Linked DNA regions of Homo sapiens: all the other regions are linked to region 1. The links are contacts of gene promoters, found by promoter capture Hi-C in blood cells and fetal thymus (Javierre and others, 2016). All regions are on one chromosome and are shown on one strand. The core of a region is centred on a gene start or on the middle of the fragment in contact, and the rest is flanking DNA. Distances in the headings are between cores, read along the strand shown. Region 1 holds the start of SANBR (SANT and BTB domain regulator of CSR). Region 2 has its middle 60 kb from the start of PAPOLG. Region 3 overlaps USP34 (ubiquitin specific peptidase 34). Region 4 overlaps XPO1 (exportin 1). Region 5 has its middle 42 kb from the start of PAPOLG. Region 6 overlaps USP34 (ubiquitin specific peptidase 34). Region 7 overlaps USP34 (ubiquitin specific peptidase 34).

Region 1 (3,172 bases), core at 634-3,133:
GTTGTTGTTGTTGTTAAGACGGAGTGGCGCTCCCTCTCTCATCAGGCCAGAGTGCAGTGGCGCGATCTCGGCTCACTGCAACCTCCGCCTCCCGGGTTCAAGCGATTCTCCTGCCTCAGCCTCCCGAGTAGCTGGGACTACAGGCACGCACCACCACGCCCAGCTAATTTTTGTATTTTTAGTAGAGACAGGGTTTCACCATGTTGGCCAGGATAGTCTCGATCTCCTGACCTCGTGATCCGCCCGTCTCGGCCTCCCAAAGTGCTGGGATTACAGGCGTGAGCCACTGCACCCGGCCAGGGCGTTTTATTATAATTTGTTTGGGCCTTGGTAGAAAGCAATCTAAAATGGAATTCAGGGCAAGGATCTTCCCTGAGAGCTCATTTCTCTTCACTTCCAAAAAGATTCATTTAAAAGTTCAAAAATATTACCCACGTCAAACACTTAAAAGCTTACATTTCAAATGTGATACTAATTTATGCTATACATGTTTAAGAGTACTTTAAATCATCCAAATGAGAAAAAAGTTTTTCTGTTGACTTTCTCTTTATACAACTGTACTAGGCAAGGGAAGACCCCCCAGCATTAATTCTAGTTAAATGAATGTCCAAGAAATCAGAGTCTGAATTTAAGTATAAAAGGCATAGCATTGATGGATAATCCTTAATAAAACATAAATTATCTCGAAATAGCTGTTATAGTGCACCTCATTCAGGAAAGTATAAATTTATCAAAAACGGTGACAAGAAAAAGCTCAAAGTTCAAATTACTATGAAATCCACTCCCATTCATAAAATATCAAAATCTTGACAATATTTAAGGTAAAATACGTTATTTACCAAAAATAAAAATCCAATATGTTTAACAGACTTCATTTTTTAAGAACATACTTCCCCTCCCCTCCCCGACCCCCTTCTCTTGGTTTATGTATTTAATATACATGTATTAATTAAGAAGACTAGTCTAAGTCACTTCCACACCAGATAGAGGTCTACAACAGGAATCTGATATATTTTTTTCTTATTTCAAATAGAAAAAAAAGCTCTTGGAGACAGAGACGTTTTCCCTTAGCCAGTGGAAAGATGGGAAGAGAGGGGGCCCCGTGGGGCAGGCAGGCAGGCAGGTCAAAGGCCTCTGGCCTAACAGAGGGCGGCGGTAACACCGAGTCATCCCGGACCGGGAAGAAGCCTTGTACCCAGGCTTCCTGACTTCTGCACACACAGGAGATCGGAGTCAGCTGGAGGAGAAAGTAAAATCACATCCCAGAACCGGCATGAGGTCAAAGCCAGTCAAACCTTGGGCCCGGAGGCTCACTACGCGGCGCGTCCTCGGGGCACCCCCAGACCTTCGCGCCCCGCTCCCGCCCGTGGAGGCACAGAAACTCCAGGGGCGCAGAGCGGACAAAGGCGCCGGGCAGCGGGAGCGAGGCGGGGCAGAGGCCCGGGGCGCGGCCGGGCGCGCAGAAGCTGGGGTTCCCGCCGCTGTGCGCGGGCGGGACGGTCTGCAGGGACATGGACCGGGCGGGTGACGGGACGCGGGCCAGCTGGCTGCTCGAGGCGCGGCCGGCTGAGGCTGTGCACGGGGGCGTTCGGGGGCGTTTGGGCAAGTGGGACCCCGCCCGGGGTGGGAAGCCGCGGCGGGAGCCGGCTGGCTGTGAGCGGTACCGCCCCATGCCGCACTTCCCGCCCCGCGGTGGGCACCCGAGCCCCCTCGGCGTCTCGCTCACCTCCACAGGGCCGCGGCTGCCCTCGCAGCGCCTCTGTTACCTGCAGTGGTCGGCACCGCCCGCGCTCGCGCCCTGAAGCTGCCGCTACCGAGCCCGCAACCCCGTCCGCAGCGCCTCACACCCCGCCCCCGCCCGCTTGCAGGCGGCTGCGGAGACTAGCGCCGAGGGGTGGGGGAGCCGCCGAGCCGACGCCGCCCGGCCAATCGCGGGCCAGCGCCGCAGCGGCGGAGCCAATGAGCGCCGAGCCCCTGCCGGGCGGGAGGGCACCGGAGGGGCGGCGGCGGCTGACTGTCGCCTTGCCTTGCCTGCTGCTTCTCCTTCCTCCTCTGGCATACACTCCCAGGCTTGTCGCAGTGCAGCGTCCCCACCCTCCCAGCGTCTTGTCTCTTAGCAACCAGATCCTAGGAGCCTGATCTTAGGTGACCAACCCTGAGTCCAGAAGAAAGGGGGATATACAGGAGATAAAAGATTAAAGAATGGATGAAATTGTTCTTGGTGCAGATCATTTGGTACACCGCTTAGGTAGAGCGGAAAGATCGCATGATGAGGGACACCGAAAGTATCTTTTAGACCAAGGTCTTTGGGTAAGGACCTGAAGTGTCTTTACCAGGAGGTAGCTCTTTAAAAATGTAAATAGCTCTGGATTACAAATTCGGTTTTCATACATTAATAGGGTGTGTGTGTGTGTGTGTGTGTGTGTGTGTGTGTGTTATTGTGAGGAACACTACTATTGGGCATCTAGTAAAATGCAAACGGCTCAATATTGTAGGGTAACTGCTACATGTCAACATTTCTATCTAATTTCCACTTGGTCTATTCTGAGAACCAAAATTAAATGTTAGGATTAGAAAGAACAGAAAAAGTAAAGCCTTAACCAAATGAATAATTACTACGAGATCTGATGATTAAGTAGAGATTAAGTGGTTCACTGTACAGAATGTCAGGAGTTTTTACCAATTGTATCATCCTGTGACTTTCTGCAGATCTTTTACGATTTTTGTTCCACAAAGACATTAAAGTGGCTGGGTGCGGTGGCTCACACCTGTAATCCCATAATCCCAGCATTTAGGGAGACCAAGACGAGAGGATTGCTTGAGCACAGCCTGAACAACAAAGTGAAACCCTGTCTCTACCAAAAAAAAAAAAAAGTTGTTTTTTTTTTAAGTTAGCTGGGCGTGGTGGCCCCAATGAGCTATGTTTGCACCACTGCACTCCAAGCTGGGCAACAGAGTGAGACCCTGTCAAAAATAAAAATAAAAATAAAGTTAGGCAAGTGTCGTATCATAAGATGTTAGGTTAAGTCAGGTAAATTCTTTTTTTATTTTTTTGAGATGGAGTCTTGCTCTGTTGCCCAGGCTGGAGTGCAGTGGCACCGTCTGGGCTCACTGCAACCTCCACCTCCCTTCAAGCGATTCTCCTACCACAGCCTCCTGAGTAACTGGGATT
Region 2 (3,098 bases), core at 328-2,827, 370 kb after region 1:
GGTATAGCTGGCAAAATATTAATGGTTCACTTTATAACTTAAGTATCTGCATATGACTTTTGTATATTTTATTGTTTCCTAGTTGAAGATTATCCGATTTAGTAGAAATTTTTTAACATTTCAGCTTTCATTCTCTAAACTCTGTCTTCTTCCTGGAAGAACTCTGTTCTACTCAATGAGAACAAAACAGCTCCCTCCTGGGAAAGCTCTTTTCAAAAGTAAGTGCATACATAGCCTGGCCACATAGTTGGTGTTTATAGTGGCGTTACATTTATTAAAGACATTCAGGCCGGGCGCAGTTGCTCATGCCTGTAATCCTAGCACTTTGGGAGGCTGGGGCAGGCAGATTTCACCAGCCTGGCCAACATGGTAAAACCCTAACTCTATCAAAAATACAAAAATTACCCGGGTGTAGTGGTGCACGCCTGTAATCCCAGCTACTCAGGAGGCTGAGGCAGGAGAGTCGCTTGAATCTGGGAGGCGGAGGTTGCACTGAGCAGAGATCATGCCACTGCACTCCAGACTGGGCAACAGAGCAAGACTCTGTCTTAAAAAAAAAAAAAGAATAAAGGAGAGAGCAGGCCGGGCGTGGTGGCTCACGCCTGTAATCCCAGCACTTTGGGAGGCCGAGGCGGGTGGATCACGAGGTCAGGAGATTGAGACCATCCTGGCTAACGCGATGAAACCCCATTTCTACTAAAAATACAAAAAATTAGCCGGGCGAGGTGGTGGGCGCCTGCAGTGAGCTGAGATCACGCCACTGCACTCCAGCCTGGGTGACAGAGTGAGACTCAGTCTCAAAAAAAAAAAAAAGGAGAGAGCCCTGAATTTCTAACTCAACTTCTCAGGGAAGCTTCAAATGTCCCTATATCTTCTTGGATTTTTAAGTGATATCCAAGTAAGTGAGACAAAGATTCTCTGGGATCTAATAGGGCAATGAAGGCAGATATTTTAATGAAGGTGAGAAATTGTGGGTTTGGACACAGGTAGCACTTTTTGATACTCATTGATGAGCTTAAGAATCTCAAAGATATTCAGGAAGTTTAAAAGGCCTTGTAGAAAAAAGGGGTTTTCAGGGACAGAATTATGGTGTCCATAAGAAAACACATCACATACACCAACCCCCTGAAATAGCTAACCTTTGCCTAAGGATGCAAAACAGACTTTCTTGGATTTCTCAGTAAATCCCTGAGGTAATAGGGTACGCTGAACACAGTGAATATTTAAAGAAAGGATCTCTTTGGAGCTTCTGCCAATAAAATATTCTCTAAGTCAAAGAGTAGCCTCACCTCTCAGCTTCTTAATAATGAAAGTGCTGGTCAGAGTAACAGCCTTTGGGCATCCTCAGTGTTAGGAAAAGACTGACCAGTGCTTGTGTATCCTCTAGGAAAGTGTTCTTTTCTCATGCTTTAAAAAATTAATTTCCCCCAGTCTTGATCAGGGGACTATAATTTTGAAAAATTCTACATTTCACTTTAGAACTACTTATTCTGCCAATCTTGATGAAAATAGTGACTGTCTCCTACTGAAGAGTGGAAGGCTTCTTATAGCTGTGTTAAGAACAAGAAAGGATTCTTCTTTTTCTTTGTTCTTTTGCAATAAATTAGAAACAAATGGTTAACAATAAGATGTAAAAATATTAGAGAAAATGTTGAAAGGAGAAAATAAGCCACTCATAATTATGTTGCCTGAGCATAGCAGTTACTCTTTTTGTTTTTGAATGTTGCCTGTTGGCCTTTACTTAAATATGTACATATTTTGGGCATAGTTGCAAGAGATGTTTTTGGCAAGTATTAAGTCACTTTATGTATATTTCGTGCTAGGTCTTTAAGGAATGGGTTTTTTCTTTTTAAAAGTCATCATATGCTGCTAATATGTTTTAAAAGCCATGCCTTAACATATCTTAACTATCATCTTACTTCATTACGGGAAATGCGTTTTCTTCTGGTCATAGACGTTTAGACCAATTGCTTTTTGGGGTTATTCCTAGTTTTGATACAGAAGCCCCATTATCATCCCCTCTTTATCTAGTGTGACATATAGACATGCATTCAGGTGACCTAAAAGTCGTATCTGTCTATTAAAGTACAGGTTAAACAGAAAAGGGGCTAAAATAATAGCCCCATTTCTTGCTCCTTGAGATTGTGATGTTATCTATCATAAGATAATGTTTGCCCACAAACGTTATCAAAAAGTATCAAAACACTTCTCAAAAGTGTTGATAGCTGGGGAGGCTGTGCTTGGTTAAATCTTCCGGACCTTAGCTGATACCTCTCTATGGGAGTAATCAGTGAAAGCTTCAAAGTGTCATATTACTTGTGGCTTTGCATTTTCCATTTATTTATTTATTAATTTATTTATTTTGAGACAGGGCCTCGTTCTGTCAGCCATGTTGGAGTACAGTGGCATGATCACGGCTCACTGCAGCCTTGACTTCCCAGGCTCAAGTGATCCTCCCACCTCAGCCTCCCGAGCAGCTGGTACTACAGGCGGGTAATTTTTGTATTTTTTGCAGAGACGGGGTTTCACCATGTTGCCCAGGCTGGTCTCGAACTCCTGGACTCAGGCAATCTGCCGCCCTTGCAAAGTGCTGGGATTATAGAAGTGAGCCACCAAGCCCAGCCATACTTGTGGTTTTTTAATCTGTAAAGTTAAAAAAGGCATAAAGGGCCAGGCACCATGGCTCATGCCTGTAATCCCAGCACTTTGGGAGGCCGAGGCAGGCAGATCACTTGAGGTCAGGAGTTCCAGACCAGCCTGCTCTACATGGTGAAACCCCATCTGTACCAAAAATACCAAAATTAGCTGGGTGTGGTGGTGCACACCAGTAATCCCAGCTACTAGGGAGGCTGAGGCAGGAGAATCACTTGAACCCGTGAGGCAGAGGTTGCAGTGAGCCGAGATCATGCCACTGCACTCCAGCTTGGGCAACAGAATGAGACCGTAACACAAAACAAAATAAAATAAAATAGGCACAAGGGTACGTAATGATAGATGAATTTGAGAGGCGTTTTAGGGAAAGTCTTCACTTGTTGGTGGTCCATTTTACCTAACCTCTGATTAGTTATCTAGCATTTCAAAGTGCTGGAATTACAGGC
Region 3 (3,178 bases), core at 30-2,529, 400 kb before region 1:
TTTATTGAATAGTTTGTGTTGGGTACTTAAGTACTTTACATGCTTTGCATGCTGCTGATTTAATCAGTTCTTTGAGGGAGGTACTCTGTCATCCTTTTCAGATGAGGGAACTAAGGTTTAGAGAATTTATGTGACTTGCTTAGGGTCACATGTGACTGTTTGGTGGAACCACAGGACTTAATCCCAGATTAGGCTAAGAGTTTTTTTTTTTTTTGAAAAGGAATTTTGTTCCTGTTGCCCAGGCTGGTGTGCAATGGCATGATCTCGGCTCATTGCAACCTCCGCCTCCTGGGTTCAAGCGATTCTCCTGCCTCAGCCTCCTGAGTAGCTGGGATTACAGGCATGCACCACCATGCCTGGCTAATTTTTGTAATTTTAGTCGATGTGGGGTTTCACCATGTTGGCCAGGATGGTCTTGAATTCCTGACCCCAGGTAATCCGCCTCCCTTGGCCTCCCAAAGTGTTGGGTTTAGGGGTGTGAGCCATCCTGCCTGGCCTAAAAGTTCTTACTAGTTAACATTGTATAAATTTTATGATGATCTATCTGAATCACCACTGTTCAGTTGGCAAAGTGAAAATTACTGACCGTGTTTTATGTATCTTCAAAAATTCAGACAAATTTCTGTGATAATTGTAGTAGGAATTCAAAAGTGGTAATAAGTATAGCTGAATAAGAATCTTTTTCATTGAATAAAATTTCAAATTTTTTGATTTTTGATTATTTTTTAAGAGACAGTGTATCACCCATGCTGGGGTGCAGTGGCCCAATTATAGCTCACTGCAGCCTCAAGCTCCTGGGCTCAAGTGATGCTCCTGCCTCAGCCTCCCAAAGTGTTGGGGTATGCTGTACCCGGCTGAGAATCTTTCTTAATACTGTTATTCTGCAGTGAACCGTTTAATAAAACTACATGTTTCCAGAGCTTTTTAGATACTATGAGTATATAGGTACGAAATCAATTAGTAACATAACTTTTTCAGTAGACATTTAATCTAAAGTTGGAATTTTTTTCCCCCCTTTGGAGATGGAGTCTTATTCTGTCATCCAGGCTGGAGTGCAATGAAGTGATTATTGCTTACTATAACTTGACCTCCTGGGCTCAAGTGATTTTCCTGTCTCACCCTCCTGAGTAGCAGGGACTATAGGTGTGTATACCAGCACACCTGGCTGCCTTTTTTTTTTTTTTTTTGGGAAACAGTTTCCCTCTGTCTCCCAGGCTGGAGTGCATTGGTACAGTCTCGGCTCACTGCACCCTCTGCCTTGGGGGGCTCAAGCAGTTCTTGTGCCTCACCCTCCCAAGTAGCTGGGATTATAGGCATGTGCCATCATGCCGGGCTAATTTTTGTATATTTAGTAGAGATGGGGTTTCGCCATGTTGGTCAGGCTGGTCTCAAACTCCTGGCCTCAAGTGATCCGCTTGCCTCAGCCTCCCAGAGTGCTGGGATTACAGGGTGTGAGCTACTTTGTCCGGTTCTCCTGAATTGATTTTTTTTTTTTTTTTGGAGACGGAGTCTTACTCTGTGGCCCAGGCTGGAGTGCAGTGGCATGATCTTGGCTCACTTCAACCTCCTCTTCCTGGGTTCAAGCAATTCTCCTGCCTCAGCTTCCCAAGTAGCTGGGATTACAGGTGCGTACCACCATGCCCAGCTAATATTTGTGTTTTTTGTAGGAATGGGGCTTCACTGTTTTGCCCAGGCTGTTCTCAAACTCCTAGCCTCAAGTGATTCACCCACCTCGGCCTCCCAAACTGCTGGGATTACAGGCATGAGCCACCACGCCTGGCTGATTTTCTTTTTTTTTTTTTTCCCCCTGAGATGGAGTCTTGTTCTGTTGCCCCAGGCTGGAGTGCGATGGCCTGATCTTGGCTCACTGCAACCTCCGCCTCCCGGGTTCAAGCGATTTTCCTGCCTCAACCTCCTGGGTAGCTGTGATTACAGGCAACTGCCACCATGCCTGACTAATTTTTGTTACGTTTAGTAGAGATGAGGTTTCACCATGTTGGCCAGGCTGGTCTTGAACTCCTGACCTCATGATCTGCCCACCTCGGCCCCCTAAAATGCTGTGACTACAGGTGTGAGCCACCGCGTCTGGCTGAAAACATGTTTTTGTATAAGATTTCATTTTATATAAAATTTAATATATCTGTTTCCAGTTCTCCCATATTATGAATAATGCCGCAAATGTACATCTTTCTACTTAAATCTTTTATCTACATCCCTGGTTCTTTTAGATTTCTAGACGTGAGTTTACTGTGTCAAAAAATATAAACATTTTTCATTATTTTCATACTGTTTGCTTGCCAGAAAGGATATATTGATCTTTTAGTCGTAGTCGTGCCTGTGTAAGGGCACTTTCACCTGTCTTGAATATTATCCTTTAGAAAGTGTTATTTTAGCAGGGCATGGTGATGTGTGCCTGTAGTATTCCCAGCTACTCAGGAGGCTGAGGTGGGAGGATCACTTGAGCCCTGGAATTCAAGGCTAGCCTGGGCAACATAGCAAGACTTCATCTCTTAAAATAAAAGTTATTTTGGTAGAGAATGTATTAAGCAATTACTAGTAAATTTAACCATTCATATTTTTGTTATTTAATGAATTGTATGTTTTTTTTTCTGTATTTCAGATTTCAGTGTTTTGGGTTTTTTTTTTTATTTTTTTGAGGCGGAATTTCGCTCTTGTTCACTAGGGTGGAGTGCAATGGTGCCATCTCGGCTCACTGCAACCTCTGCCTCCCAGGTTCAAGTGATTCTCCTGCCTCAGACTCCCGAGTAGCTGGGATTACAGGGGCCTGCCACCATGCCTGGCTAATTCTTTTGCATTTTTAGTAGAGACAGGGTTTCATCCTGTTGGCCAGGCTGGTCTTGAACTCCTGAGCTCAAGTCATCCACCTGCCTCAGCCTCCCAAAATGCTGAGATTACAGTTGTGAGCCACCCTGCCCGGCCCCTCTTACCTTCTTTCAAAATTCAAAGCTCGCTTTTTTTCTAACTTGTAAGTTTTATTAATAAGAATGAAATAACAACAACAACAAAAAGCTCACCTTTACCTGTTTTTTTTTTCTTTTTTTTTTTTTGAGATGGAGTCTCGCCCTGTTGCCAGGGTGGAGTGCAGTGGCGCGATCTTGGCTTCCTGGACCTCCACCTCCCAGGTTCAAGTGATTGTCCTGCCTCAGCCTCTCGAGTA
Region 4 (3,400 bases), core at 236-2,735, 440 kb before region 1:
ATCACTTGAACCTGGGAGGCAGAGGTTGCAGGGAGCCAAGATTGTGCCACTGCACTCCAGTGTGTGTGACATAACAGGACTCCGTCTCAAAAAAAAAAAAAAAAAAGAAAAGAAACACATGGAACCAAATCAGGATGAAAGAAACTGGAATAGCAGTTTGTTATAGGCTGGGCTTGTTGGCTTGTTCCTGTAATTCCAGCACTTTGGGAGGCCCAGGCAGGAGGATCACTTGAGTCTATGAGTTTAAGACCAACCTGGGCAACAATGCCAGATCCCATCTTTAAAAATATGAATAGCACATTAAATTCATTGATTTTTTTTTTTTAAGTCTTGCTCTGTTGCCCAGGCTGGAGTGCAATGACGTGATGTCTGCTCACTGCAACCTCCACCTCCCGGATTCAAGTGATTCCCCTGCCTCAGCCTCCCGAGTAGCTGGGATTACAGGCACCCGCCACCACGCCCAGTTAATTTTTGTATTTTTAGTAGAGACAGGGTTTCACCATGTTGGTCATGCTGGTCTCGAATTCCTGGCCTCAGGTGATCCACCCACCTCAGCCTCCCAAAGAATTGCTGGGATTACAAGCGTGAGCCACCGCACCGGGCCGGAATTTTTTTAAAATGCCAATACTGGTGACAGGATTAGAGTATATTAACTGATTTTACTTAGTCTTTCCATTCCCACATTAATTAGTTCTCAAAATTTATTTGCATGCTACAAAAGAGCTCAACAATTTTTTTATTACGTGCAATTTTTTTAATAGGAATAAAAAAATACGTTGTTGGCCTCATTATCAAGACGTCATCTGACCCAACTTGTGTAGAGGTAAGAGTTTATTTTGGAGCTTATTGGGAGAGCATAAAATCATTTAGATATTGAGTCTGACTACAACCTAATTCTGTCAAGACACATAGTCACACATATGCACAGTCAGTCATTTACAGTAGAGCTGTAATCATTTGTTAGGATTGTCTGGTTATATTCTTATTTATACTTACCTCAGGCTCTCATTTAATCTTTTACTTTTCCTTAGAAAGAAAAGGTGTATATCGGAAAATTAAATATGATCCTTGTTCAGGTAAGCTTTAACTTAACTGTTTTCCTTAGAAGAATTATGCTTATTATTTGAACAAAATGTTCGACCTACTTAGGAAATAAAGTATACTAATATTTTGCAGAAGTAGTGATAGTATTCTTATAATAATAGGTAACCTACTGTCTAGTACTTGAATGTTAATTTGCTGTGGCAGTAATCATCAAATAACGTTAAAGCCATCATTTATGTGGCTGCAGTGTGGACTGGACTCTGTTGGATTCTTATTTATCTTTTCTTTTCTTTTTTTTTTTTTTTTGGAGACAGTCTCCCTCTGTTGCCCAGGCTGGAGTGCAGTGGCATGATCTCGGCTCACTGCAGCCTCTGCTACCCGGGTTCAAGCGATTGTTCTGCCTCAGCCTCCTGAGTGGCTGGAATTACGGGTGCTTACCACCACGTTTGGCTAATTTTTTGTATTTTTAGTAGAGACAGGGTTTCACCATGTTGGCCAGGCTGGTCTCAAACTCTTGACCTCAGGTGATCCACCCACCTCGACCTCCCAAAGTGCTGGGATTATAGGTGTGAGCCGCTGCACCTGGCCGGATTGTTTTTTAATTTTCTGATATGCCTGTGCATATTTCCTTTGCATGTATGTCTCTGAGTCCTTTGATTTCCTCGTCCTTCTAATTGATTTCCATGCTTAGTCCTTAAACTGTCTATGTAGACTAAATTTATAATTTTTATGTTTATCTGTTTTCTATAGTAATATCATAAAATTTTTTCCAGAGAACCCTGGTATGTGTGGGGGAAAAAACAGTAATTTCTATTTAAATAAGACTTAGAAACATCCAAGCTTCCAAAAATTTTAGTGTATTCAGTAATTAACTCCAGCTTTTATTATACTTTAGAGCTTTCTGTTAGCCCTTCTCTGAGTGGTGAGAGAGAGGAGAGAATATAAAGAAGGTTAACATGTATTTTTATAATCTGAAAAATCCCTTGTGTGTGCCATAAATAGTCCAGACTTGCATACAAATATAATGCAGTTCATGAGGCTTTTGGTTAAAAGTTTATTCAGGCCCCGATTGCAGTGCGTCCTCTCTTTTAAATTCATATATCCAAACCCTACTACATTTCAAGGCTCAAATTGCATCCAATAATAAGCTGTCTTAACCGGTCACTTTTTATCACCAATGGTTAATTAAATCCTTGAGTCTCCTAGGATAATTTCTTCTTTTCTTGTTTGAAATGGAGTGTCGCTCTGTCGCCCATGCTGGAGTGCAGTGGCACCGTCTTAGTTCACTGAAACCTCCACCTCCCAGGTTCAAGCAATTCTCCTGCCTTGGCCTCCCCAGTAGCTGAGACTACTGGCCCGCGCCACCACCCCTGGCTAATTTTTGTATTTTTAGTAGAGACGGGGTTTCACCATGTTGGCCAGGCTGCTCTTTTTTTTTTTTTTTTTTTTGAGATGGAGTCTCATCCTGTTGCCCAGCCTTGAGTGCAGTGGCCTGGTCTCGGCTCACTGCAACCTCTGCCTCCCAGGTTCAAGAGATTCTCCTGCCTCAGCCTCCCGAGCAGCTGGGATCACAGGCACACGTCACCATGCCTCGCTAATTTTTGTATTTTTAGTAGAGACAGGGTTTCACCATGTTGGCCAGGCTGGTCTTGAACTCCTGACCTCGTGATCCTCCTACCTCGGCCTCCCAAAGTGCTGGGATTACAGGCACGAGCTACCACGCCCAGCCTGGCCAGGCTGTTCTCAGACTCCTGGCCTCAAGTGATCTGCCCACCCTGGCTCCCCACAAAGTGCTGGGATTACAGGCATGAGCAACCGCGCAAGGCCTCCTAGAATAATTTCTACATATCTATCAGGCAGATACTAATACACAGACAGACCCATTAGACGGATTGGACCTTTCATTAGGATAATTGAAAAGGGTCCTGCGGTGATTAAGATAAAAGACTTTGTGTTTTGTTTTCTACCCAGTAGGGTGAAGAGGGTGGCACATTTCTTCCTTTAATAAAGGAGGAGAAAATGAAAAGTGATTTATCCTTACTCCTGCCTTTATCCATTACATAATTTCTTTGAAGTTTGTTTTATTTGCCTTTGAGAAATGAAGTGCGATTAACATTTCATGTCTTGTTTTAGATACTGAAACAAGAATGGCCCAAACATTGGCCAACTTTTATCAGTGATATTGTTGGAGCAAGTAGGACCAGCGAAAGTCTCTGTCAAAATAATATGGTGATTCTTAAACTCTTGAGTGAAGAAGTATTTGATTTCTCTAGTGGACAGATAACCCAAGTCAAATCTAAGCATTTAAAAGACAGGCAAGTAATAATTATGTTTTAGAATTTTAAAGTGATTTCTC
Region 5 (3,339 bases), core at 771-3,270, 350 kb after region 1:
ATTCTCCTGCCTCAGCCTCCCGAGTAGCTGGGATTACAGGCAAGCGCCACCACACCTGGCTAATTTTTGTATTTTTTTTTTTTTTTTTAGTAGAGACGTGGTTTCACCATGTTAGCCAGGCTGGTCTCAAACTCCTGACCTTGTGATCCACCCACCTCGGCCTCCCAAAGTGCTGGGATTACAGGTGTGAGCCACCATGCCCGGCCTATTATTATTATTTTGAGATGGAGTCTCGCTCTGTCACCCAGGCTGGAGTGCAGTGGTGTGATATCTGCAACCTCCGCCTCCTGGGTTCAAGCAATTTTCCTGTCTCAGCCTCCTGAGTAGCCAGGACTACAGGTGCCCGCCACCACGCCTGGCTAATTTTTGTATTTTTAGTAGAGACAGGGTTTCACCATATTATTCTGGCTGGTCTTGAACTCCTGACCTCAGGTGATCCACCTGCCTGGGCCTCCAAAAGTGTTGGGATTACAGGCATGAGCCTCCGCGCCGCCTGAACTGTTAGTCAATTAAGCCTCTTTCCTTTATACATTACCCAGTCTCACATATGTCTTTATTAGCAGCATGAGAACAGACTAATATACCCCCTTTCATCAGTCTTTAATAGTGAGGAGAAACTACCCTGTTGGCAAATTGTTTCCGGTTTCTGGGTGGGATTGGTAGAAAGCCTTCTCTTCCATGCCCTGCTGAAAGGCTGATCTCCCTAATAACTGCAAGCCATAGGCTAGGGCACTTCTGAAGGCCTACTATGTGCAAACACTGTTCTAAGTGCTTCCACCTTAATTGGCTTCTTTTTTTTTTTTTTTTGAGACAGAGTCTTGCTTTGTCACCCAGGCTGGAGTGCAGTGGTGCGATCTCAGCTCACTACAACCTCTGCCTCCTGGGTGCAAGCGATTCTCCTGCCTCAGCCAACCGAGTAGCTGGGATTACAGGCACCTGCCACAATGCCTGGCAATTTTTTTTTTTTTTTTTAGTAGAGACAGGGTTTTACCATGTTGTTCAAGCTGGTTTCGAACTCCTGACTTCAAGTGATCTGCCCACCTCAGCCTCTCAAAGTGCTGGGATTATAGGCATGAGCCACTGTGCCTGGCCCTCTTAATTAGTTTATTTAATCCTCTCTACATCGCCACAAGATAGGTACTACTATGATCACTATTTTACAGGTGAGCAAATGAAGCACAGAGAGGTTAAGGAGGAACAGGGTTATCTGTTACAACTCTTCAGCAGGGCATTCTGGGCAGTTCTGTCTAACTTGTGAGAGGCAAGGGGACTATCTGTTAATTATTTGTTATCAATATTATTTTTTGAGCAGAGCCTTGCTCTGTCATCCAGGTTGGAGTGCAGTGATACAATCTTGGCTCACTGCAACTTCTGTCTCCTAGGTTCAAGTGATTCTCATGCCTCAACCTCCCAAGTAGCTGGGATTACAGGCATGCACCACCATGCCTGGCTAACTTTTGTATTTTTTAGGAGAGAAAAGGTTTCACCACGTTGGCCAGAATGGGCTTGAACTCCTGATCTGTACTAGTCTGTTTTCACGCTGCTGATAAAGACATACCTGAGACTGGGCAATTTACAAAAGAAAGAGGTTTAATGGACTTATAGTTCCACATGGCTGGGGAGGCCTCACAATCATGGCAGAAGGCAAGGAGGACCAAGTCACATCTTACTTGGATGGCAGCAGGCAAAGAGAGAGAGAGAGCTTGTGCAGGGAAACTCCCATTTTTAAAACCGTCAGATCTCATGAGACTTATTCACTATCATGAGAACAGCGCAAGAAAGACCTGCTCCCATGATTCAGTTATCTCCCACCAGGTCCCTGTCACAACATGTGGGAATTACGGGAGCTATGGGTGTGAGAGAGAGCCAAACCATATCATTCTGCCCCTGGCCTCTCTCAAATCTCTTGCCTTCACATTTCAAAACCAATCATGCCTTCTCAACAGTCCCCTAAAGTCTTTTTTTTTTTTTGAGATGGAGTCTCGCTCTGTCACCCAGGCTGGAGTGCAGTGGCGCAATCTCAGCTCACTGCAAGCTCTGCCTTCCGGGTTCATGCCATTCTCCTGCCTCAGCCTCCTGAGTAGCTGGGACTACAGGCGCCCACCACCACATCTGGCTAAGTTTTTGTATTTTTAGTAGAGACGGGGTTTCACTATGTTAGCTGGGTTGGTCTCGATTTCCTAACCTCGTGATCTGCCCGCCTCAGCCTCCCAAAGTGCTGGGATTACAGGCTTGAGCCACCGCACCCGGCTGTCCCTAAAGTCTTAACTCATTTCAGCATTAACTCAAAAGTCCACAGTCCAAAATCTCATCTGAGACAAGGCAAGTCCCTTCCACATATGAGGCTGTAAAATCAAAAGCAAGTTAGTTACTTCCTAGATACAATGGGGGTACACGAATTGGGTAAATATAGCCATTTTGAATGGAGTAAATTAGTCAAAACAGAGGGACTACAGGCCCCATGCAAGTCTGAAATCCAGCAGGGCAGTCAAATCTTAAAATTCCAAAATGATCTCCTTTGACTCCATGTCTCCTATCCAGGTCATGCTGATGCAAGAGGTGGGCTCCCACGGCCTTGGACAGCTCCACCCCTGTGGCTTTGCAGGTATAGCCCCTCTCCTGGCGGCTTTCACTGGCTGGCATTGAGTGTCTGCGGCTTTTCCAGGTGCACGGTGCAAGCTGTTAGTAGATCTAACATTCTGGGGTCTGAAGGATGGTGGCCTTCTTCTCACAGCTCCACTAGGTGGTGCCCCCAGTAGGGACTCTGTGTGGGGGCTCTGATCCCACATTTCTCTTCTGTGCTACCCTAGCAGAGGTTCTCCATGAGGGCCCTGTCCCTGCAGCAAACTTCTGCCTAAGCGCCCAGGCATTCTCATACATCCTCTGACATCTAGGCAAAGGTTAAAAAAAAAAAAAAAAAAAAAAAAGGCCAGGCGTGGTGGCTCATGCCTGTAATCCCAGCACTTTGGGAGGCCAAGGTGGGTGGATCACCTGAGGTCGGGAGTTCAAGACCAGCCTGACCAACATGGAGAAACCCCATCTCTACTAAAAATACAAAATTAGCTGGGCATGGTGGCTCATGCCTGTAATCCCAGCTACTCGGGAGGCTGAGGCAGGAGAATCACTTGAACCTGGAAGGTGGAGGTTGCGGTGAGCCAAAATCGAGCCACTGCACTCTAGCCTGGGCAACAAGAGCGAAACTGCGTCTCAAAAAAAAAAAAAAAGGTAAAATAATAATAGCAACAAAAACAAATCTTTCACGCCTATAATCCCAGCACTTTGGGAGGCTGAGGTGGGCCAATCACGAGGAGAGGAGATCGAGACCATCCTGGCTAACAT
Region 6 (3,205 bases), core at 254-2,753, 360 kb before region 1:
GGCACCTGTAATCCCAGCTACTCAGGAGGCTGAGGCAGGAGAATCGCTTGAACCTGGGAGGCAGAGGTTGCAGTGAGCCAAGATTGTGCCACTGCACTCCAGCCTGGGCAAAAGAGTGAGACTGTCTCAAAAAACCAAAAATTTAAAAAGACAAAAGTATATCTGATTTTTGTGTTTTGAATTTGTATCCTGTAACTTTGTTGAATTCACTTATTTTTTGTTTGTTTGTTTTTGAGAGGGGGTCTCACTCTGTTACCCAGGTTGGAATGCTGAAATGCAAACTGCAGTTTAATGGAAGCCACTGATTTTTTTCGGCTCACTTCAGCCTTAACCTTCCAGGTTCGAGTGATCCTTCCACCTCAGCCTCCTCAGTAGCTGGGACCAGAGGTGTGCACCACCATGCCTGGCTAATTGTTTATATTTTTCGTAGAGATGGGGTTTCACTATGCTGCTCAGGCTGGTCTTGACCTCCTAAGCTCAAGTGATCTGCCCGCCTTGGCCTTCCAAAGTGCTGGGATTACCGGCTGTTAGTTCTAACAGTTCTTCTTGTGTAATCCTTAGGGTTTTCTGTTGGTTCATGTTATCTGTGGACAGAAGTGACTTGATTTCTTTCCATTTTCTTCCTCATTGAATTGCTCTGACTAGAATTTCTAATACTGTGTTGAATAGAAATTGTGAAAGTGACCACCTTATCTTGGTCCTAATCTTAGAGGAAAAGCTTTTGGGCTTTCACCTTTGAGTATGATGATAGCTGTGTGTTTGGAGAACTCTACTCTGATGAAATGTCCTTCACTTGCCTTTCTGGTTCTGGGTTGGATGGAATGAGTTGGAAAGTTTTTGTTGGTTAGCAGCTAGGCTGTCAGGCGGGCCTCTGGTGAGGATGGTTTTCTGGCCACACAAACTTTTTTTCAGAATGTGTGCCGTGTGTGTTTTTTGTTAGAGTAGGATATGATGGTTGTAGCCACTCTTCCCTCTGTTTTTAGGCACTGTTATGGCTGGGGAAGGAAAACTGGCATGGCGTACTGTGATCCCTTCTTCACCTTGTTGAAATCATACAATGCAAGAGGTTGTTTTTAGTGGTTGCTTCATCTTAGGCCCCAACTATATCTTATTCTGTCCTAGTTGCTAAGCTTTGTTGCCCAGGTCTTCTCCCTGATGGTCAGTAGTGTCTTCGGCTTCCAGGGCCTCAGATGTGATCTAGGTCCCAAAAGCCTGGTCTTGGGTGTAGGTGTTACTACCTTGTGACTGTTTTACATGTATTTTGGCCTTACGCCGTTTCCTTTTCTCCTTGACCAAGGTAATTTTTTTTTAAACCCCTTTTTGGTTAATCAGTATTACCAGAGAGGAATCTTCCAACCTCCTAGTTCAGCTTACCAGCATTTCTGGAGCTGAGTTGAGGAAGTGTGCTGTAAGTCTCAACATTGTGTATGTAGTCTGATTAAGTAGAAGGTGCGCGCGCGCGCGTGTGTGTGTGTGTGTGTGTGTGTTTTAAATGTAAACTAACCTCATATATATTTGGTACAGGAAACTTACTGGTATAGTAGGACATATTACTGCTTCATAGGGGATTTCCCCTCCTCACGTTAATGTGATACAGTGATCCAGGCAAGATTTCTTGGGATTAAAGAGAAGACACTAGCAATATATAAAGAAACAGTAAGAAAGCTGATAAGCCTCAAAAATGCTTTCTTGTACATACATAATAATTGGTTTAGTGGCTTCAAAGACCCTTATGTTTTCTACTTTGTAAAGCTGTGTGGACCAGCCAAAGAAGGTAAAAGCCATTAAAATGATGGAATTATAAGAATGGTTATGTTCAATTTTTATTATTTTGGGAAATGGTCTTTTAATGAGAACTGAATGTTCTCAAGCTTCCTCATATCAAAAGAGGAACGCCGTGTGAAGGAAGCTGTGACTTCAAGGAAGGTATGCTCTGTGGCTACTGCTGATACCTCTGAGAGGAGTACCATGAGACTGGTTCTTGGAATACTAAGCTGGAGGCTGGAATCAGTGCTGCTGCTTTCAGATATAGCAAGCTGACAAGTCTTTGGTCTCTCCTCCTGCCTTCTTCTTCTAGTACCCTATAGGCACTGGAGAACAAGATCTTAACAGGAAGACAGCTGGAAATGAAAAATGTAGATTGCATGGTCCCAGCCTCAGCATCACAACGGAAGGCTGGTTTTGGAGATGAGAGATAATCCCAGAATAAGTGGCAAAGTCTCACTGCCCCCCCCACCCCTTACATCTGTCAAAAATCTGTTCTTAAGTCCATATGAGTTATTAATTAAAAGTAGACTTATTTTCTTTGGAAGCAAAAGAATGATTATCTGAAATGTTTGCATTTGTAGCTCTTGGCTTTATTTTGAACTGTTGGCTTTAATACTGGTTTAGCATTATTCATAATTTTAAAATTTCTTTTTTATTTCAGTATCAGATGTAGAAGGTGGTGATGGACTGCAGCTCAGAAAGGAACATACTCTCAAAATATTTACTTATATCAATTCCTGGACACAGAGGTATGCATCTTTAGGTATTTCGAAGACTAATTTTTGTGAGTTGTGTTATAAGTTGCGATTTTTATTGTCACATTTTCTTTTTAGGGTGTTGGGTTAGATACCATTAGTTACTAAATGACAGTTTGTCAATATTTATTAAATCTTTACTCATGAGGTCGATCATGATTCTGTTTTTAAAACATGGGCATAAATATCAGTTTCTTTCTTTGACCCCTGCTTATTTAGGGATATGAGAGTCACAGAAATTCTGAAAAGTAACTATTTTGAGAGATTAAATAATTTTTATGGTATAGCTAAAGGCTTGTAACAATCTTAATCCTTAAAAAAGAAAAGTCATTGTGGTAGGGGATACTTTTAAGCCACTTAATATCTGTTCCGTTTCTATAATTATGTGTATTAGACCAATTTCTAAATAATACATATATTGAGACTATAGGAAATAAAATTTTAGGAAAACATGTTAATATAATCAAAGTTTATAAAAAGGATTCCTGTTCCTCAATGTGATTTTAACTAGTCTTTGCTAATAATTTTTTTCCCTTGAATAAACCAATGAAAATAAAAATTACTTTAACTTAAACTTAGTCCTTCTAAAAAATTTTATGGGTAAGAATGTTTGAAGCATTGTGTGCAGTAGCCAATGAACATGTTAAATGCAGTGATACATAAATGAATGTTCTGAGGTATAC
Region 7 (3,168 bases), core at 29-2,528, 330 kb before region 1:
TTCTGATAGGTTGAAATTATTACATATAGTAGTAGTGTAGCATGTAGGTTAATAATGTTGCCTTTTTTTTTTTTTTTTTAGACGGAGTCTGGCTCTGTTGCCCAGGCTGGAGTGCAGTGGCATGATCTTGGCTCACTGCAACCTCCGTCTCCCAGATTTAAGTGATTCTCCTGCCTCAGCCTCCCGAGTAGTTGGGACTACAGGCGTATGCCACCATGCCTGGTTAATTTTTGTATTTTTAATAGAGATTGGGTTTCACCATGTTGGCTAGGCTGGTCTCAAACTCCTAACCTCAGGTGATCCTCCTGCCTCAGCCTCCTAAAGTGCTGGGATTACAGGCGTGAGCCACTTTGCGTGATCTGAGCCTTAATTTTTTTAATTTGCAAAATGGGAATGATGATGATATCCATCTACTTTAGAGGATTGTTTTGAGGTTTAAAATGAGAAAGATTTTAAACTCATAATGTAACACTTGACATATAAAGTGTGTAGTAACTGGTGGCTTTTACTAACTTCGGTTGTTACTAAATACCTAAGTGATCCTGTTATTCTGATTGAACTTATTTGTTTGATAGAAAGTTTTATGTACTTTGGCATTCTCTGAGAGAAAGTATCTCAATTTAGTTAACTGGAATGCTGGGATAACATTTTTATTTCACACTGTGGTAATTTTGGAGAGGGCATATAATTTTGAAACACCAAATTATCAAAGGGTTTACTTAATCAGGAATATTACATAAACCTGGATTAAACTGTTTCTTGAATTTATTTGTACTAATTCTTGTTTAACAGTCTAGTATGGAAAGCTTGTTAAAGACTTTATTACTATATCTTTAAAAGTTATCGTTTACAGGGTTTTTTCTTCCTTACTTTATCCGTTTTTTTGAGACAGAGTCTCACTCCGTCACCCAGGCTAGAGTGCAGTGGCACCATCTTGGCTCACTGCAGCATCCACCTCCTGGGTTCAAGCAGTTGTCCTGCCTCAGCCTCCCTAGTAGCTGGGATAACTAGTGCACGCTACCACACCCAGCTAATTTTTGTATTTTTAGTAGACCCGGGGTTTCGCCATGTTGTCCAGGCTGGTCTCGAACTCCTGACCTCCTGTGATCCGCCCACCTCGGCCTCCCAAAGTGCTGGGATTACAGGCTTGCAGGCTTGAGCCACCGCACCCGGCCTTTGTTTTGTTTTTGTTTTTGAGAGAGAGTTCTGCTGTGCGGTAGTAGCAGCTGACTGCAGCCTTGATCTCCCAGGCTCAAGCAAACCTCCCTCCCATGTCAGCCTCCCAAGTACCTGGGACTAAAGGTGCATGTCACCACGCCTGGCTAAATTAAAAATTGTTTTTGTAGAGATGGGGTTACGCTGTTGCCCAACCTGTGAAGTTATCCTTTACTAAATACAAAGGTTTAGGCTTAGATTCTGTTTTATCTTTCTCTTCAGCCCTTTTATGACTGCTAATTGGTGGGCTGTTGTCAATCTGCATAGTTTTCTTTATCTTGCAACTCAACTGAGGCCGTTAAAGCAAAATTATACTATTTAAATTAATATATTTTTTGAACACCGTAATACTATAATACTATATAATCTGTTTGTTAATTTTCTGAGAATAATAACTCAATGGAGTAACTCTTTAATAGGCATCTTTTCCTTATAAAAAATATTGTAGATTGGCTCTCTGCAAGCTAATTTCTTTTATATGGTTAATATTTTAGTGTACATTAAGAGCTTAGAGTTCTTTTTGTAATCAAGCTTGCTACAGAAGCTGTGCTTTATTTATTTCATAGTAATTTCCTCTAGTGGGTCATTGTATAAACCCTGATCATTTTTGTATGTCTATTCCTTTTCTTGCGAAGTGGGCAGCTTGTTTAGCCATGGTGTTTTGGCTTCAATAGGGTGAGGTCTCTATTTGGGAATCTCTGAATTTCACAGGAATGAGTAGAACTATATTTAACAATGAAAAAAATAGTATTAGATTTTAGGGCAGCCGTTTGTAAAGAAAAGAAAATAACTCATAAATCACTTTTGTGGCAGGAAAGATACGGACTAACGTTACTGAATACTTCTTTTTCTCTATTATACTAAATCACACATTCAGAAGAGAACATGTTTATAGCATTTCCTGGGACTCAGGAAATGATCCCATTCTGTTTATTTTCTAGTATGATTTCCTCCTCACTTAAAGAAAAAGCTATATATTTATTTTGAGACTGGCTAATTTTTGTGTTTCTGGTAGAGGTAGTGTTTCACCATGTTCCCCAGGCTGGTCTTGAACTCCTGGGCTCAAATGATCCGCCCGCCTTGGCCTCCTAAAGTGCTGGGATTACAGGTGTGTGCCATTGCACCTGGCTGATTTCCTCACTCTTACTGAGGCAAGGTAACTTTGTCAGATGGTGAGTGTTATTTTTTCGTTTTTTTTTTGAGCTGGAGTCTCGCTCTGTCACCAGGCTGGAGTGCAGTGGTATGATCCCTGCTCACCTCAGCCTCCGCCTCCCAGATTCAAGCGATTCTCCTGCCTTAGCTTCCCGAGTAGCTGGGACTACAGGCACGCACCACCATGCCCAGCTAATTTTTGTATTTTTAGTAGAGATGGGGTTTCACCATGTTGGCCAGGATGGTCTCAATCTCTTGACCTTGCGATGCCCCCACCTCAGCCTCCCAGAGTGCTGGGATTACAGGTGTGAGCCACTGCGCCTGGCTGGTGAGTTTTTTTTTTCAGAACCTGAATCTAGAATCCTGAAATTTCATCTCAGGAAAACTCACTCTTCTCTGGATTTGAATTATCAACAAAGAAAGGAAATTCTTACCTTATCAGATTAAGGTTCAAATCTGATAATAACGTCAAGCCCATACATTTGTTTCAATCTCAAAAACTTTAGCAGATTCTTAACTAGAACTTCAGCAGTTCTTAACTAGCTCTGAGTTTTAGGAGATTTCTCAGTTTGCACAAATATTATTCCACCTATTATATGGATCCGTTCTTTAATAACAGCTGCACCCACAAGAAAACAACAAAGATCTTTATGTAGTTTTCTTACTTTGCAAATGCAGCTTTTTATGTAGTTTTCTTACTTTGCGAATGCAGCTTACTAACATTTAACACAGCTTAGAGAAATAGAACATGGAGGCATACAAGTTTCTCCACTGAGACCCAAATGGAAGTTAATCTCACTT

The links. The method cuts DNA at HindIII sites, captures the fragments that hold promoters and counts their contacts. A CHiCAGO score of 5 or more calls a contact.
Region 2: a contact is called between a fragment that was not itself captured here and the fragment with the promoter of SANBR in region 1, in 1 of 17 cell types (activated CD4 T cells). The highest score is 5.4, in activated CD4 T cells.
Region 3: a contact is called between a fragment that was not itself captured here and the fragment with the promoter of SANBR in region 1, in 1 of 17 cell types (M2 macrophages). The highest score is 5.9, in M2 macrophages.
Region 4: a contact is called between a fragment that was not itself captured here and the fragment with the promoter of SANBR in region 1, in 1 of 17 cell types (M0 macrophages). The highest score is 5.1, in M0 macrophages.
Region 5: a contact is called between a fragment that was not itself captured here and the fragment with the promoter of SANBR in region 1, in 2 of 17 cell types (monocytes and M2 macrophages). The highest score is 6.5, in monocytes.
Region 6: a contact is called between a fragment that was not itself captured here and the fragment with the promoter of SANBR in region 1, in 1 of 17 cell types (M2 macrophages). The highest score is 6.3, in M2 macrophages.
Region 7: a contact is called between a fragment that was not itself captured here and the fragment with the promoter of SANBR in region 1, in 1 of 17 cell types (M2 macrophages). The highest score is 6.0, in M2 macrophages.

The regions. Positions count from the first base shown.
Region 1 is chr2:61,064,582-61,067,753 of GRCh38, reverse strand. SANBR (SANT and BTB domain regulator of CSR) reads right to left here and starts at 1,883. Exons shown (of 22, transcript NM_001129993.3): 1 at 1,727-1,883. RefSeq lists silencers at 1,284-1,343, 1,354-1,703, 1,734-2,103 and enhancers at 993-1,492, 1,493-1,994. The HindIII fragment of the contact is 4,406 bases long and covers 454-3,172 here.
Region 2 is chr2:60,694,656-60,697,753 of GRCh38, reverse strand. No RefSeq gene overlaps it. Among named protein-coding and RNA genes, the nearest start is that of PAPOLG, 60 kb to the left of the region's middle. The HindIII fragment of the contact is 1,444 bases long and covers 856-2,299 here.
Region 3 is chr2:61,460,871-61,464,048 of GRCh38, reverse strand. The region is part of intron 1 of USP34 (ubiquitin specific peptidase 34); the gene reads left to right. Among named protein-coding and RNA genes, the nearest start is that of USP34, 8.6 kb to the left of the region's middle. The HindIII fragment of the contact is 4,536 bases long and covers 1-3,178 here.
Region 4 is chr2:61,499,672-61,503,071 of GRCh38, reverse strand. XPO1 (exportin 1) reads left to right here. Exons shown (of 25, transcript NM_003400.4): 5 at 762-823; 6 at 1,032-1,076; 7 at 3,178-3,359. Among named protein-coding and RNA genes, the nearest start is that of USP34-DT, 30 kb to the right of the region's middle. The HindIII fragment of the contact is 803 bases long and covers 1,084-1,886 here.
Region 5 is chr2:60,712,125-60,715,463 of GRCh38, reverse strand. No RefSeq gene overlaps it. Among named protein-coding and RNA genes, the nearest start is that of PAPOLG, 42 kb to the left of the region's middle. The HindIII fragment of the contact is 6,738 bases long and covers 1-3,339 here.
Region 6 is chr2:61,420,057-61,423,261 of GRCh38, reverse strand. It overlaps USP34 (ubiquitin specific peptidase 34), which reads left to right. Exons shown (of 80, transcript NM_014709.4): 2 at 2,429-2,516. Among named protein-coding and RNA genes, the nearest start is that of SNORA70B, 4.3 kb to the right of the region's middle. The HindIII fragment of the contact is 741 bases long and covers 1,133-1,873 here.
Region 7 is chr2:61,390,341-61,393,508 of GRCh38, reverse strand. The region is part of intron 5 of USP34 (ubiquitin specific peptidase 34); the gene reads left to right. Among named protein-coding and RNA genes, the nearest start is that of SNORA70B, 25 kb to the left of the region's middle. The HindIII fragment of the contact is 940 bases long and covers 809-1,748 here.